Regions from separate parts of the Homo sapiens genome. Here regions 1 and 3 are each linked to region 2. Evidence: promoter capture Hi-C in human tissues and cell types (Jung and others, 2019). All regions are on one chromosome and are shown on one strand. The core of a region is centred on a gene start or on the middle of the fragment in contact, and the rest is flanking DNA. Distances in the headings are between cores, read along the strand shown. Region 1 overlaps TOPAZ1 (testis and ovary specific TOPAZ 1). Region 2 holds the start of ZNF852 (zinc finger protein 852). Region 3 overlaps TCAIM (T cell activation inhibitor, mitochondrial).

Region 1 (2,891 bases), core at 392-2,891, 210 kb before region 2:
CACATGGACACAGGAAGAGGAACATCACACTCTGGGGACTGTTGTGGGGTGGGGGGAGGGGGAAGCAATAGCTTTAGGAGATATACCTAATGCTAAATGATGAGTTAATGGGTGCAGCACACCAGCATGGCACATGTATACATATGTAACTAACCTGCACATTGTGCACATGTACCCTAAAACTTAAAGTATAATAATAATAAAATAAATAAATAAATAAAAAATAAAAAAAAAGAAAATGAGAGCTGGGTGCCATGGCTTACATCTGTAATCCCAGCACTTTGGGAGGCCGAGGTGGGCAGATCACTTGAGGTCAGGAGTTTGAGACCAGCCTGGCCAACATGGTAAAACCCCATCTCTACTAAAAATAACAAAAATTACCCAGGCATGGTGGTACATGCCTGTAGTCCCAGCTACTCAGGAGGCTGAGGCTCCAAGAGAATCACTTGAACCCAGGTTGTAGTGAACTGAGATCGTGCCACTGCACTCCAGCTTGGGCGACAGAGTGAGACGTCTTAAAAAAAAAGAAAGAAAAGAAAATGGGCTAAAGACATAAACATGTTTCACCAATGAGGATATGCAGATGGCAACTAAGCACATGAAAATAAGTTCAACATTGTTAGCCATAAGAGAAATGTAAAATAAAACTATATGAGATATCACCACACACCTATCAGAATAACAGAATTTTTTTTTAAATATTGTTAACACCAAATGCTGGGGAGAGTGTGGATAAACTGGATCATATGCTGTTAGTGAGAATATAAAATGGTACAGCCACTCTGAAAAGCAGTTTGACAGTTTCTCTACAAACTAAACATGCACATCCCAAAGGCAGCTGTTGAACTCCTGGGCATTTATCCTAGAGAAATGAAAACTTTTGGTCACATAAAAACTTACACGTAAATGTTCTTAGCAGCTTTAATTGTAATAACCAGAAACTGGAAAAAAAAAAAAAAACTCAGATACCCTTCAATAGGTGAATGAGTAGTTATAGTTAAACTGTGGTACATACCATGGCATACTATTCAGGAAAAAGAGGGAGAAACTATGAAATGTGCAACAAATTGGATTGATCTCAAGGGAATTGTGTTGAATTTTAAAAGCTAATCTCAAAAGGCTACATGCTACACAGTGCATACATTTCATTTATGTAATATTCCCGAGATAACAAAACTAAGAAATGGAGAACTGATTAGTGGTTGCCAGGGGACAGGGACAGTGGAGAGGGGATGAGTATAAAAGGGTATCATGAGAAAGTTCCTTTGTAGAAATGGAACAGTTGCAGTTACATACACACACACAAATACATGTAAAAATTGATAAAAACTGAATAAGGCCTGTAGTTAACAATATTGTACCAGTGTCAGTTTCCTGGTGGTATATAAGATGTCACTATTGGAAAAAGCTGGGTGAAGAGTGCACAGTGTACTATTTTTGGAAATTCCTGTGAGCTTATTTAAAAGTCAAAAAATTGTGAAGATAAGTATATAACTTATAACTTTTAAAGATAAGTATATATAACTTTTGTTAGGTATTGCCAAATTTTCCTCCAGAATACTTGTACCCATTTGTGTTCCCATCAGAAATATGAGACTGCCTATTTCAGCCTAGCTTTCTAACATAATGTGTTAGAATGTTTTTCAATGTTTGCCAATCTATTAGATGACAAATGGTGTTTTAGTTTGCATTTCTCTCATGAATGAATTTGAGCATTTTCTGTTCGTATATTTGAGGGCTATTTTTACATGTTTTATGTGAACTCTTCACTCTTTTTCCCCTTTTTCTATTAGGTTTTGGTTTTTTGGTTCTTAAACTTTTAGAGTTCTTGATATATTACAGGTATTAGGCCTTTGTAGTATATATTAGTATATATTGCAATTTTTCTTCCAGTTTGTCAGTTGTCTTTTGACCTTCTGGTGTTTTTTACCATGCAAAAAGTTTTATTTTTATGCAACCTTATATTTCAATCTTTTTTCTCAGTTTTGAGTCAAGGTTATGTTTTATTGCATGTGGTTTTGAGTCATCATTTCTCTACATGAAGGTTTTAGGCAAACTGGCACGTTTTCTTTTACTATTTGTATGACTTCATTTTTACAGTTAGGTTTTTAATCTACGTGGAGTTTTTTCTCTTAGGTATGTTATGTGAAATGGATTCAGTTTTATCTTTTCCAAATGATTATACAACTTTTCCAACAACATGTATTAAAATATCCATCTTGGCTGGGCGTGGTGGCTCACACCTGTAATCCCAGCACTTTGGGAGGCCGAGGTGGGCAGATCACGAGGTCAGGAGATAGAGACCATTCTGGCTAACATGGTGAAGCCCCGTCTCTACTAAAAATACAAAAAACTAGCCGGGTGTGGTGGCGGGCACCTGTAGTCCCAGCTTCTCGGGAGGCTGAGGTAGGAGAATGGCGTGAACCCAGAAGGCGGAGCTTGCAGTGAGCCGAGATAGCACCACTGCACTCCAGCCTGGGTGACAGAGCAAGACTCCATCTCAGAAAATAATAATGGTAAAATAAAATGTCCATCTTTACCTCCAGTGATTTGAGATGCCACCTTCATCGTATACTAAATTTCATATACAATGGGGTCTGTTTCTTGACTTTGTATTTTATTCCACTGGACTGTTTGCCTATTCCTGCACTGGAACCACACTATAGTAACTGTAGAAGCTTTAATAGTATGTTTTAATTTTTGGTAGGGATAATTCTTTTTCATAGTTTTTCAGTGTTTTCCTGGATCTTCTTGGATGTACGCTTCTCCATATATTTAGTATCAACTTCCTAACTCCGTGTAGTAGTAATGTGTCTTTCAGGAGTGTTTTATAATTTTCTTTGTATAAGTACTTAATATTTTGGGTGCTATTGTGAATGAGGTTTTCTGTA
Region 2 (2,700 bases), core at 54-2,553:
ATTTACTAAAATATTCTCTGTAATAACATAATACTGGATTTAACCTACTTGTCCATCAATATGGCTAAATAAAAGTAGCATTTTTATAGGATGAAATACCATACAGCACCTAAAAGGAACATACTAGATCCTTATGCATCACCATGACTGTTCCACTATTCACCAGGTGGCCAGGCTGTGCTGCCAAGATTAAAAGGCCATCCAAGGAAGGGATAGCACATGATTTGAGGTCGCTGAGGACAGATACCAACCACATCAGGCCCCAAGAGGTACAGCGTATACTTACAGCAAAAGGAGAAACAGGGAACAAGATCCAGCCTCCTGCAATGCAAAGAGCCCCCACACCCAGCAGATCCACTCCACAGCTATAGGGCTGGTGTGATGCACACACCCCACTTAGTAAGGAAGAAAGATCTCAATCCACCCTCCCCACTCCTATGGGGTGTGAAATACAGAAGGCTGAGAGAATGAATGAAGGCCACTGACTTAAGAGATTAAACACAACAAAGGAGTACACATGAAGCCTGAAACACTGAAAGACACAAGGCATTAAATGCAGCAGCACAGGCTGTGAGGGCTCTAACTCTGCAAGGAAATGTTCCAGGCTCAAGGTCACTCTTACATTCTTAACTTGGCAATGGGCTATTTAAAAAAAAAAAAAAGACATTAAAAACTGTCAATTCTTCTTGTCTCCCAGTTTAGATATTCCTTCTTTCATTAATTTAACAAACACCTTCTAGGAGCACCTACTATTTCCCATACACTAAGGTAACAGCAGTTAATAAAGCAAACAGAAAGCACTGCCCTGGCAAGGGGCTTATGGGAAGATAACCAATAAACAAATACATGCTATGTTAGACGGCGACAGGTGCCAGGAAGTGAAATAAGACAAGAAAAAGGGAGAAGTCTATGCCAGATGTTTTCAATGTCAGGAGACCTGGAGACTAAGATTTCCGGACGGTGGCTACTTTCACTTTTCTTCCACTTATCTAATTGTCTCTAATAAGTACGCTTTATTCGCATAATTGGGTGAAAAGATAAAGCCAGAAGAAACCGGGAATTTTCCAGATTCTCTGCCCCAGACGCCCGGGGGGCGAAGAGGTATGCCCTCGGCGCGGCCGGGCGGGATCCACGGCCAGACCCCCGCCCCGGGTGCAGCCTCCAGGCCCGGCCTCACCTGCCACTCTCGCACGCACAGCCGCCCCCGCTCCGCACCCCGCGCCCCGCCGGGCCGCTCACCGACTCCGCCGCCGAGAGACAATCATCCAAACGCCGCCACCGCAGCCGACCGCCCCGCGCCTACCTCCCAGCTTCCCCAGTTGCGCACGCGCGTCGCCTCCCCGGGCCCTCTGCGGCCTCTCTAGGAAACTGGGAGGGCCAACATCTCTGCTTCTCCCTGGGCCCAGGGCCGCTGGCGGCGGGCGGCGGGCGGCGGGCGGCGGGCGGCGGGCGGCGGGCGGCGGGGCTTGTCCAGCATCCTTCGCCTCCTTCCGCGGACACTTGTCTTCCACGCTCTGATGCCCAGGCGCGCTCCAGAACTCTATCGGCTTTGGCGTATTATCCTACATCCCTCCCATCGGTTCTGCACGGCTGCCCTGGAGGCCTCTTTTCCTTCAGGGAAGAAAGGGATCCAAAGCTAGCGGTGAAAATAGAGCCAGCGGCCTGGCGCGGTGGCTCACGCCTGTAATCCCAGAACTTTGGGAAGCCGAGGTGGGCGGATCACGAGGTCAGGAGATCGGTGGCTAACACGGTGAAACCCCGTGTCTACTAAAAATAAAAAAAAAGTAGCTGGGTGTGGTGGCGCGGCGCCTGTAATCGCAGCTACTTCGGCGGCTGAGGCAGGAGAATCGTTTGAACCTGGGAGGCGGAGGTTGCAGTGAGCCGAGATCGTGCCACTGCACTCCAGCCTGGGAGACAGAGCCAGACTCCGTCTCAAAAAACAAACAAACAAAAAAATAGGGCCAGCACATCCCCAAACATAAAACCCTTGAATGGAGAAATTCCCAAACAAGGCAATAAGCCCAGCACTGGCCGTGAGAGTTTATTATCCCCTTTTAAGTAAATGCTACAAGCCCTAGGCGCACTTTTGCAACTGTTCAAGGGTCATCAGGCTGCACATGACTGACCAAGACACTCAGTTGCCCACTTTGGATGGAGCTACAGCTTTGTGGGAAAAACAGATAATAGAAATTACACAAATACATCAATGTCAAGTGGTTACGAACACTGTTGAAATGTAACAGAGTTATTTAATTGACAGCGACTGATGATAATGCTTGTATTTTTTCTGGTACTTTTCTGTATACTTCCGGTAGCTCATAACACACTGGCTGCCATGCATTGATTTGAGTTGCCCAAGGAAATAGAGTCAGTAACTGGAATAGCCACTGAATCCAAATCTTTTGGTCTTTTCACTACTGTGCTTCATAAAAGCTCTCCCGTCCCACGTCCCTGTAGAGGGAGAGTTGGGGATAGCATGGCTCCTAGCTGAGATCCCAGAAGCTAGGGGTAGAAGGTTGTGGGCAGGATAGTGAGGAGGGCAAGATTCCAAGGAAAACTAAAATCCCTGCCCAGGAACGGTTACCACCTGGGAAAGCAGGAATGACCCAACGCATCAAGGCCCAGAGTGTACTCAAAGAACAACAGGTTAGGATGAGGGTCAAAACTCAGACCAGAAAGAGCATTAGCTGAGCTTGGTGG
Region 3 (2,910 bases), core at 275-2,774, 150 kb before region 2:
TTACATTATATTAGATATTATAAGTAATCTAGAAATGACTTAAAGTATATGGGAGGATACACATAGGTTATTTGCAAATACTACACTATTTTATATGAGAGACTTGAGCATTCGCAGATTTCGGTATCCACGGGAGGTCCTGGAACCAATCCCCTATGGATACCAAGGGACTGCTATGTATTACAAAGCCACATGCTTTGGAATTACTTCAGTGTTCCTTCTATTTTCATTAACACTGATATCTAGTTTAATATGAAAAGGAACTTGAAATCTTGAAAATTAGAACATCGTTATTTTTTTCTACTTGCAATGGAAAATCTATTTTGCTTTTTTGCTTCTAGGAAAATATTCTGATTATGATATGTGATATGTTGGCTACTCAAAGTCAGAACTTTTCAAAGTAATCAGTAAATTGAATCAACAGAAAAATATTCATTAACTCGGGGATGCATTAATAAAGTTTTTAAATTCAAAATGTATAGAAAAATCAAGCTTAGTAATACTTTAATATTATTCTACCAATGTATTTTTTTTAATTAAGACTTCTGTATGCAGCAGGGCATGGTGGCACACCTGTAGTCCCAGCTACTAGGGAGGCTGAGGCAGGAGGATTACTTGAGCCCAGGAATTCAAGCCTGGGCAACATAGTGAGTCCTCATCTCCTAAATTTAAAAAACAAACAACAAAAACTTCTACGTGTGGTAAAGGGTTAACTCAGCAAGCTTGGGTTGCTTAAACCTTGCACATTCCAAAGAAAGGTCTGACCCCAGTGCTGACCTTTGACTGGCTACTGGGAAATGAGCTCTGAGCCCCTGGATAGGAATGTTTCTGTTTGCCTGAGGCCTTTGACCATGCCAGATAGTTTATGCTAACAATGTGATTTATAGTGAATACCTGTTTTCCTGTGTCTAAGACCCTGGGCTGCACTGTATTAATTTGACCTTGGGTATTTGGGGAGCTGAGACTGAGTAGCTGAAGTGAGTCACATAAGCACTAAATGCTTACCTGACTGACCCCCAGTAAAACTCTGGACATCCAGACTTGGATGAGCTTCCTTGGGTGGCAACACTTTTACGTATTGTCACACACCATTGCTGGGGGGATTAAGCACTGTCTGTAAAACTCCACTGTGAAATGACAACTGGAAACTTGCACGTGGTCTCTCCTGATTCTGCTCTATTCACCTTTTCCCTTTGCTGATTTTAATCTCCATTCTTTTGTTGTAATAAACCATAATGGTGAATAAAACAGCTTGTCTGAGTTCTGTGAATCCTTCTAGTAAATCGTTGAACCTGAGAGTGGTCTTGGGGACCCCTGACACAATGTGCCTAGAGTTTAATGGTTCTGATAAGTTTACATTTTCGTGTTATCTTTAACTTGTATTTATTGACTCCTCCTTTGTGTCAAGCCCTTGCCCTAGCTGCTGCCTCTGTTTAGAGCATCCTTTTCCCAGATATCCCAGATATGGCTTGTCCTTTACTTTCTCACCTTTCAGTGAGGCTCTCCCAGACTACACTATTACTTGTGTTTGTTTTGTTTTGTTTTGTTTTTAAAACTACCCTATTTTAAATTGCCATCTCTGCTTTCCTTCCTAGCATTCCGTCCCCTCTTTACCCTGCAGTACTTGTTTTTTTTTCCTTTCCATGTACCCTATTTCCTTATTTGTGAGGTTTGTTGTTTATTTTTCTCCCCTCACTAAAATGCAAGCTCCATGAAGACTGTTCACTCTTCTTGTCACTCTTCTTGCCACCACATGTTCAGTTCAGTCTTCTTCCTACTATTAGAGAACACCCTTGCCCCTTTTCTTAGGAAGAGTGGCTTAAAGTCCCATCTATTCATAGCATCGAACTCAAAGTCCAGGGTTTCCCAGTGATGCACAGGATTTTTGGGTTTTTTAAAAAATCCTCTTTAATTTAATTTAAAAATCTGCAAAACATTGTGGGTTTAAAAAAAAAATCAAAACTAAATACAAAGTTTAATGAGAAGTCTCATTCCTATATTCCTGTTTCGTTTACCCAGTTCCTATTCACTTCCTATATATAATCTTTTTTTTTTTTTAATTTTTTTGGAGACAGAGTCTTGCTCTGTCACCCAGGCGGGGAGTGTGGTGGCACCATCAAGGGGCTCACTGCAGCCTCGAACTCCTGGGCTTAAGTGATCCTCCTACCTCAGCCTCCTGAGTAGCTGGGACCACAAGCATGTACCACCGTGCCCAACTAATTTTTGTATTTTTTGTAGAGTCGAGGTTTCACCATGCTGCCCGGGCTGTTCTCAAACTCCTGAGTTCAGGCAATCTGCCTACCTCAGCCTCCCAAAAACTGCTGGGATTATAGACATGAGCCACCACGTCCAGCCTTCTTGTGTTGCTTTTCAGCAAAAATAGAAATATTTATCAAAAAATAATGATGAAGATTTAGTCTTACACTGGCAATAATTATCCCACACTTGCCTGCAGGACTCATATGGCTAAGAACATCATATTAGAATAAATTAAACAAACAATCATTTATTACTTTGGGATATTTAGTCATTGGCATTTTCTACATTTAGGTTATAAAGGAATTCAACCATGTTTTCTTCTATTACTTATATGGTTACATCTTTTTACATCTTACCCATATGGAGTTCATTCTGTTACATGTTGTGAGATGTAGATCCAATTTTATCTTTTACCAAAGAGCTATGAAATCCCAACATTTTTAAATACTAAATTATTTAATACTCTCAATGTGTTTAAAAGGTTAGATAGATATCATTTCTGATATTTCCTTGTTCTATTTTGTATGTAAATGCCCTTAATGTTTTTTTCCAGGAAATCAATGAAAATTCTCTTAAAAGGTTAAGTGTCTACCTAGAAAACCTCCAGAAACCAGGCTTCAAGTCTTTGAAACCAACTCAGCTTACATTTTA

Evidence for each region. Contacts are between HindIII fragments. The study calls those that stand out against the background at their distance.
Region 1: a contact is called between a fragment that was not itself captured here and the fragment with the promoter of ZNF852 in region 2, in 1 of the 25 tissues and cell types used here (mesenchymal stem cells).
Region 3: a contact is called between a fragment that was not itself captured here and the fragment with the promoter of ZNF852 in region 2, in 1 of the 25 tissues and cell types used here (liver).

Annotation. Positions count from the first base shown.
Region 1 is chr3:44,299,908-44,302,798 of GRCh38, forward strand. All of the region lies in intron 12 of TOPAZ1 (testis and ovary specific TOPAZ 1), which reads left to right. Among named protein-coding and RNA genes, the nearest start is that of TCAIM, 37 kb to the right of the region's middle. The HindIII fragment of the contact is 3,841 bases long and covers 1-2,891 here.
Region 2 is chr3:44,509,314-44,512,013 of GRCh38, forward strand. ZNF852 (zinc finger protein 852) reads right to left here and starts at 1,304. Exons shown (of 4, transcript NM_001423469.1): 1 at 1,240-1,304. RefSeq lists enhancers at 687-1,463, 1,464-2,240, 1,699-1,758 and silencers at 1,069-1,228, 1,239-1,298, 1,429-1,478. The HindIII fragment of the contact is 21,843 bases long and covers 1-2,700 here.
Region 3 is chr3:44,358,553-44,361,462 of GRCh38, forward strand. TCAIM (T cell activation inhibitor, mitochondrial) reads left to right here. Exons shown (of 11, transcript NM_173826.4): 4 at 2,813-2,910. Among named protein-coding and RNA genes, the nearest start is that of TCAIM, 21 kb to the left of the region's middle. The HindIII fragment of the contact is 4,576 bases long and covers 1-2,910 here.